2 separate regions of the Homo sapiens genome follow, and region 1 is linked to region 2. Evidence: promoter capture Hi-C in 16 types of primary human blood cells and fetal thymus (Javierre and others, 2016). All regions are on one chromosome and are shown on one strand. The core of a region is centred on a gene start or on the middle of the fragment in contact, and the rest is flanking DNA. Distances in the headings are between cores, read along the strand shown. Region 1 overlaps EVI5 (ecotropic viral integration site 5). Region 2 holds the start of C1orf146 (chromosome 1 open reading frame 146).

Region 1 (4,233 bases), core at 515-3,014, 420 kb after region 2:
AAAATCTCAATGATTTTTATATTGATTACATTAAAATAATATTTTGAATATACTGAGGTAAATAAAAATATTAATTTTACCTTTTTTTGCTCCTTTTAATGTGGGTATTAGAAAATCTTAAATTGCATATGTGACACATTATATTGCTATTTGATAGTACTGTTATATACTACAGAAGACATGTAAAGATTACTGAAAAATATATTTTAATCTAATAGAAAAAAAACAGGGTACCTACAATAATGTGAACCATCTAAATTCCAAAATAACAAAATTGTATTTGTCCTTAGAAATGTAGAAATCTTCTTCAAAAGATATGCATGGTTTCCCAGCACTTTGGGAGGCCGAGGCGGGTGGATCACTTGAGGCCAGGAGTTCAAGATCAGCCTGGCCAACGTGGTGAAACCCTGTCTCTACTAAAAATACAAAAATTAGCTGGGCATGGTGGCACACGCCTGTAATCCCCGCTACTAGGGAGTGTGAGGCAGGAGAATGGCTTGAGCCCGGGAGGTGGAGGTTGCAGTAAGCCAAGATCATGCCACTGTACTCCAGCCCAGGTGACAGAGCAAGACTCTTGTCTCAAGAAAAAAAAAAAAAAAAGATATACATAGAAATAATTGCTGGAAGTAGAGAAGACGCAGATGCTGCACAAAGAAATTAACCACGGAAGCACGCAACTTTCCCATTTGCTTTCCTACTCTATAAAACATGAATATTGATGCAAACACTTAAGTCGTCATTTTTAAGCCAGTGCCCATAGAAAAGCTTCTGTACAAAAGCAATATGTAATTCATCATTATAAAATACTTTCTAAAATAAATTGTCTATCACTTCACATTTAATTTATGTAGTAAAGAAAATGTGGCAACTCAAAATTTCAAAATAAAGTCATAAAAAACAATCTTCTACTGAACTAGCATGAATAAAGCACAGTTATTTTTACTCTTTAATATGTTAGGAACAAAACAGATGTCAAATCAAAACTATTAAAAATAACCAGATGCTTAATACATGGTACTCTCCTGCCCCAGTTACCAAAAAAAGATGTGCAAATGAGGACTTTAATTCAATGCATTATACATTATTTCTTCTAGTAATTTTGATACTATTGAAACAATATTTCAATACGAGAAGTGCATCTGCAACAGACACATCATCTTAGCAAATACTTACCTTTTATCAATTAGGAAAAAGGCATTCTTTTGGAATGACCACATCCAAACTAGATGTGCCATAATTTATTTAATTAGATCACAGTTATTTCGTGGGTACTGGAAGAATTTTTTTGCCCTCAACTTAAAGCCCTGGCAACTGTAGCACAGGTTTGTTTGCAAAGACTTTATATTAGAAGATCCCCAAGAAAACATCAAACTCAAAGGCCCATATGAGAATGGAATTCTTGATTGGCATAAACCAACTAATCCAATCAAGTACAAAAAGCTATAGTAATGTTGGGCACAAATCTTTATTAATAAAATTTACAGAGAGCTGAAATGCTCTGATAACAAGTCATTCTGGATAATATATATCTTATGCTTTTTATACTCTAAAACATATTATTTTAGTCTTCTGGATTAAAATAACTCTAAACGTATTATGTAAATTTTTTTGCCACTGACAGAGTTTACAGAATATAATTCCCAGGTCATCATGATGGTGGCCAATTAACATACTGCAAATTACACAGTGTCTAAGGAAAAGATGCTGCTGTGAACTATAAATTACCTGAAGCTAACCACTGTAGTTTCAATTTATTCTATTTTCCACAGGGGGAAAACAGTTTTATAAACATGTTTTAATGTTTGACAGAAATGACAATTATGACAGCAGCTAACATCTACTCACCACTTACTATGTGCCAGACACATGTTAAGCACTTTATATTCTCCTTTAACCTTCACCACAATTACTGTCTTACTAATAAGGAAACTAATAGGGTACACCAAGGTCAAACAGCAGTTGATAGTGCTATTAATTGACAGTTTGTATTACAGAGCCCATGTTCCTCACCTTTAAGCCATATAGGTGTTGAAGAGTTTAATATATTGTTTTAATATATACTGTTCTAAAAATTAATTATATAATATTAAAAAAATCCAAACCTCTAAAAAAAATCTAAGCATATAGATCTCACATAATGTTCTTGTATTAAGAAATTCCTAGAAGAGTGCATTTCATATTCAAGTGAGTAACTTGGACAGACACACAATTTGTTTTACCAAATGACAACTGCCACAATTATGATGGCTGGCAGTCTCAGCAAGGGGAGCCGTTTATTTAAAAGCATAGAAATGACAGATGACTTCTCTATACTTACATCAAGTTAATTTATGTAAATGAATCTCATAATGTTTCTGTGATACCAGCAATCCCATTCCAATGAAACTGACAGAAATTCTTTTTAGTAAGCAGAGTCTGCTTTTCAATCCTATGTGCTTTTCTGGTGTTGCAAAAATTACAAAGGTAAAGGTAAGTTAGAAAGTCCTCAGTAATCCTTTTTGCTTGTGTCTTGAGCTTAAAAAAAAATCTTCAATATTTGAAGGAAATAGGAGTAATACAGTAAAAAGTAAATATTTGTATTGGGGGAAGTTTCTCATATTATTAAAAAAAATTTCAATATTTGAAGGAAATAGGAGTAATACAGTAAAAAGTAAATATTTGTATTGGGGGAAGTTTCTCATATTATTAAGTGAAAAAAAATTGAAATTAGAAAAAGGGTTGTCCATGCAAATGTATCCAATATTGCTTGAATTTAAGTATACATTAAGCTTTTAACTAAGTTCAAGATATGACATTTATATGCTCTTTTCAGGAACCCAAACATTTCATGGAACCCTGTTCTCATCTCTTTTGTAACACTTATCACAACTCTAAATAAAAAATTGTGCATGCTGCCCAAAGTAATTATAGATTCAATGCTATTCCCATCAAACTACCATTGACATTCTTCACAGAATTAGAAAAAAACTACTTTAAATTTCATATGGAACCAAAGAAGAGCCTGTATAGCCAAGACAATCCTAAGCAAAAAGAACAAAGCTGGAGGCATCACGCTACCTGACTTCAAACTATACTACAAGGCTACAGTAACCCAACAGCATGGTACTGGTACCAAAAAGACATATAAACCAATGGAACAAAACAGAGACCTGAGAAATAACACCGTACTTCTACAACCATCTGATCTTCAACAAACCCGACAAAAGCAATGGGGAAAGGATCTCCTATTCAATAAATGGTGCTTGGAAAACTGGCTAGCCATATGCAGCAAACTGAAACCGGATCCCTTCCTCACATGTTATACAAAAATTTACTCAAGATGGATTGAAGACTTAAATGTAAAACCCCAAACCATAAAAACCCTAGAAGAAAACCTAGGCAATACCATTCAGGACATAGGCATGGGCAAAGACTTCATGTCTAAAACACCAAAAGCAATTGTAACAAAAGCCAAAACTGACAAATGGGATCTAATTAAAGAGCTTCTGCACAGCAAAAGAAACTATCATCAGAGTGAACAGTCAACCTACAGAACAGGAGAAAATTTTTGCAATCTACCCATCTGACAAAGGTCTAAAATTCAGAATCTATGGGGAACCTAAACAAATTTACAAGAGAAAAACAACCCCATCAAAAAGTGGGCAAAGGATATGAATAGACACTTCTCAAAAGATGACATTTACACGGCCAAAAAACATCAAAAAAAAGCTCAACATCACTGATCATTAGAGAAATGCAAATCAAACCCACAATGAGATACCATCTCATGCCAATCAGAATGGCAATTATTAAAAAGCCAAGAAACAACAGATGCTGGTGAGGCTGCGGACAGATAGGAATGCTTTTATAGTGTTCATGGTAATGTAAATTAGTTCAACCAACACGGTTCTAGAACCAGAAATACCATTTGACCCAGCAATACCATTACCAGGCATATACCCAAAAGAATACAAATCATTCTACTATAAAGACACATACATACATATGTTTACCGCAGCACTGTTTACAATAGCGAAGAGTTGGAACCAACCCAAATGCCCATCAATGATAGACTAGATTAAGAAAATGTGGTACATAAACACCATGGAATACTATGCAGCCATAAAAAGGAATGAGATCATGTCTTTTGCAGGGACATAGAAGCCATCATCCTCAGCAAACTGACACAGGAACAGAATACCAAACACCGTATGTTCTCACTCTTAAGTGGGAGCTGAGCAATGAGAACACATG
Region 2 (4,175 bases), core at 1,078-3,577:
CATGTGAAATTTGAGATGTCTATTACTGGAAATATTAAACAGCAATTGGTTATACCAGTTTGGAGTTCAGGGGAAAGGCCAGGGCTGTAGATAGATATTTGGAATTTGTCAGCACATGGATGATATCTAACACTATGAGTTAAGGAGGACACCAAAGTAACAAATATACCCAGAGAAGAAAAGAGGTCCAAGGACTGAGCTTGCGGCACTCCAAGCAAGATTAAAAGGTTGGGTTTTGAGGAAGAACCAATAAGGATGCTGATAAATGGCCAGTGAGGCTGGAGGGAAACCATGAGAGCATGATATGGGGAAGCCAAGGAAAGAAAGTTTTTCCAGGAGGAGGGAATGATCAACTGTAACAAGTACTGCTGATTGACCAAGTAAAATTAGTATTGACAGCTGTTTGCTGGATTTACCAATGACTTTGACATGAGCAATTTCTGTGGTATGGTGGAAATGAAAAAGTCTGATTGGAATAAATTTGATAAAGAATGGGAAAAAAGGGCATTAGCAACAGAAATTATAGACAATCCTTTTGAGTTTTTCTGTAAAGAGAGCAGAGAAATGGATTGTTAGCTGGTGTGGGAGAGGAGATTAAGAGATTTTAAGATGAGAGAAATAATGGCATATTTATTTGCTATTGAGACTATTCAGTGGAGAGGAGAAAATTGAAGATTGTAAGAGTCAGGAAATAATTGGTGGATATATATATATATATATATATATATATATTTTTTTTTTTTTGAGACAGTTTTGCTCTGTTGTTCAGGCTGGAGTGCAGTGGCATGATCTTGGCTCACTACAACCTCTGCCTCCCAGGTTCAAGCAATTCTCCTGCCTCAGCCTCCCAAGTAGCTGGGACTACAGGTGTGCACCACCACACCTGGCTAATTTTTTGTATTTTTAGTAGAGATGAGGTTTTGCCATATTGGCCAGGCTGATCTTGATCTCCTGACCTTGTGATTCACCTGCCTCAGCCTCCCAAAGGGCTGGGATTACAGGCGTGAGCCACCGCGACTGGCCGGTGGAGCTATATTCTTGGGTAAGCAAGAAGAGATGGGCTCTGTTGTCCATTTGAGGGCTGGCCTTACATAGGATTATACAGTTCACCTACTATAGTTGGAAAGAAAGCAGAATCTGGCATATAGATGTTGGTAGATTGGTAGGTGGACATCTGTGGAACTTCGTTTCTGGATGCTTTTATTTATCTCATTTGAATAGTATTTAATATTAAATACTAAATACTATTAAAATCATAAATCTTTATGAAATATTAGCAGTAACTATTTCACTTCAGCCGAAAATGAAGATGAGGAATAAGTTCTGGAGATTTGAAGAGAGGAGGAATTGTCTTAGTCCATTATGGCCACGATAACAAAATACCTTAGACCAGGTAATTTATAAACAAGAGGCCAGGTGTGGTGGCTTAACAAACTGCCCAAATGAGGCAGCAAGAGTGCACCTAATTTTAATATCAGTTATACAAAATGCCAAACATACAAAATGGTTATCACAGGGAAAAATTAACAGCACATCACAAGTGTGCTCCAAAGGATTTTTCCTGGAGCACCTTTCTTTCTACAGGAATACCTGTTTTACAAAGTAAGGCACATAGTTTTGTATCCTAACCATTAGGCTCAAGGCAAGTAGTGGTCTTTGTCTTTTTACATTTTTATGATTGTGACACTTAATAAATTGCTGAGCTTCAATTAGGTCTGAACATAATGGGGTCCTAAAAAGCAAACACACAGGCCCCTGTATGTCCTTTTGACAGCTGCTCATGAAAATCTACCTTTTTCATAATTTGGATAAACTGAAGGCCACTTTGATTTTATGTTGCAAATGACAGAAATCTAAGAATTGAGCCTGAATTTTAGAAAACTGTGAAAATCAATTCCGGACAACTGAGTCTAACACGCAAAAATCTTGTTTTTTTTTTTTTTTTTTTTTTGAGACGGAGTCTTGCCCTGTCACCCAGGCTGGAGTGCAGTGGTGCGATCTCGCTCACTGCAACCTCCGCCTCCTGGGTTCAAGCGATTCTCCTGCCCCAGCCTCTCGAGTAGCTGGGATTACAGGTGCGCGCCTCCATGCCCAGCTAATTTTTGCATTTTTAGTAGAGACGGGGTTTCACCATGTTGGTACGCTGGTCTCAAACTTCTGACCTCGTGATCCGCCCACCTCGGCCTCCCAAAGTGCTGGGATTAGTGGCATGAGCCACCGCGCCAGGCCTACAAATCTTGTATCTTCTTAACCACTTCCGGCTTCCTGCAAACCTCGCTCTAGGGAGCCAGAAGCGCGGAAAAGGTTTGCGGGGTCTGCGGTTGCGCAGAAGCCCAGCGACTGCAGAACCCTGCCCCAGGCACCCTGGGCGCTCTGCCCTACCGGCGGCGCCTCTCACTGCTCACGGAACGTTCTGGAAGTTTGGGAAACCCTGAGCGGTCTCTGAGGACCTGGTGAGCAGGTGGGTTTGCAGCGCTGGGGATGAGGCCTCGGCAGACCTGTCTCTTCGCGTTTTTCTTTCTTCGTTCTTCGCCGGCGTAGTGCTCTCTGACTTGCCGAGCTCAGAGCTTTACCTCAGGGCTTTGGCGGGTGAGGGGAGGAGATCCTGCCCACCCTATTTTCCCCTTGAGAATCGGTGTGGAAAGGGCTCCCTCGGGGTTTTCCCTGTCAGAAGTCCGTCACCCACCTGCGAGTGTAAATTTTATTTGCTTTAGGCTTTGTTGGTCACTCCGAAAAGTAAAGAATGGAAGAGACCGTGAAGATCCTTGTAGGCCGGCGCCTCACTGGACCCGTGAGGAGACTGAGCAGGGAAAGTGACTTGCTGGAGATGATGGGGCAGTGTTAAACTTAAATTTGCAAACACTCCAGAGCTTGGAAAAAACAAAACAGTAGCAACAAAAGCCCAGAATACCAGGGCCTTGGAACTGGCAAAGGTTTAAGAGGCCACTGGGCCCACGCTTTTTGTTTTTATTTTTAATTTAACTTTTATGTTAGGTTCAGGAGTCCGTGTGCAGGTGTGTTACATAGGTTAAACTCGTGTCACGGGAGTTTGTTGTCCAGATTCTGTCGTCCCCCAGGTGCCCATTAGTGACTGTCCCTCCTCCACCTTCTGGTCCCCCGGTCCCGTCCCCCGCGCCTGCCCCTCCCCTCTGTCCCTGCACGCTCAGCGTTCACCTCCCGTTTAGAAGCTTTTTGTTTTCAGGTGAGGATGCAGCCTAACCAGAGGTGACGTGATTTGCCCAAAGCCACACAGTCCTTGCTTGGCTGCTGGTCGAGGAGCTTTTCCCCAGAAATGCTGAGAAGGCACTGCCCCAGCCCCAGGTTTCTGATTCATTCCTCACCTTTAACAGGGACTTGGGACACGACTGACCCCACTCCTTTCTCACTTATTGTGCACGTGATTACTTTACTTCTCTTAGCTTTAGTTAAATTGTTTTTAAAACCTATGTATAAGGGTGTAAAGATTTAAATGAACATTTATGGATTACTAACTGATAGGCACAAACATACATATCCACATACATACCAGTAACTACTCCAAAAAGTTCTTGTAACCTTTGCATATATGTATTCATAGCTATGTGGGTGTATTAGTAAGTATGTGTAGGGGGGGTTATAGAAGTTGAAGCCCTTCCCCCAGCCAACTCACCATTTACTCATTCACAAATCTTTGAGTGTCTACTGAGTGCCAGGTGCTGAGTAAGGTAAAACAGAATCAGAATGTGTCCCTGCTCTCATGGAGCTAGTTAACTTCTCATTCATTCATTCATGCAATAAATGAGGAAATTAGAGAGCAGCTGGTTTCAACTCAGCAGGAAGAACTTTCTAATTATTAAAGTTGTTGAAAAGTAGAATGAAATCACCTTGGGAGATACTAACTTACCATCACTGAAAGTGACTTTCTCTTTCTTTTTTTTTTTTTTTTTTTTTTTTTAAGACAGAGTCTCGCTCTATCACCCACGCTGGAGTGCAGGAATGGGATCTCAGGTCACTGCAACCTCCACCTCCTGGGTGTGCAGCCACACCTAAGGAATGGGGAGTTATATTCCCCACCCCCACTGTTTAATATTTTTAGAGACAGGGTCTTGCTATGTTGCCCAGGCTGGAGTACAGTTGTTATTTACAGGTGCAAACATAATGCACTGCAGCCTCAAACTCTTGGCCTTAAGCAATCC

The links. The method cuts DNA at HindIII sites, captures the fragments that hold promoters and counts their contacts. A CHiCAGO score of 5 or more calls a contact.
Region 1: a contact is called between a fragment that was not itself captured here and the fragment with the promoter of C1orf146 in region 2, in 2 of 17 cell types (fetal thymus and total CD8 T cells). The highest score is 7.1, in fetal thymus.

What each region holds. Positions count from the first base shown.
Region 1 is chr1:92,636,798-92,641,030 of GRCh38, forward strand. All of the region lies in intron 13 of EVI5 (ecotropic viral integration site 5), which reads right to left. Among named protein-coding and RNA genes, the nearest start is that of EVI5, 150 kb to the right of the region's middle. The HindIII fragment of the contact is 2,003 bases long and covers 764-2,766 here.
Region 2 is chr1:92,215,588-92,219,762 of GRCh38, forward strand. C1orf146 (chromosome 1 open reading frame 146) reads left to right here and starts at 2,328. Exons shown (of 6, transcript NM_001012425.2): 1 at 2,328-2,461. The HindIII fragment of the contact is 5,529 bases long and covers 1-3,186 here.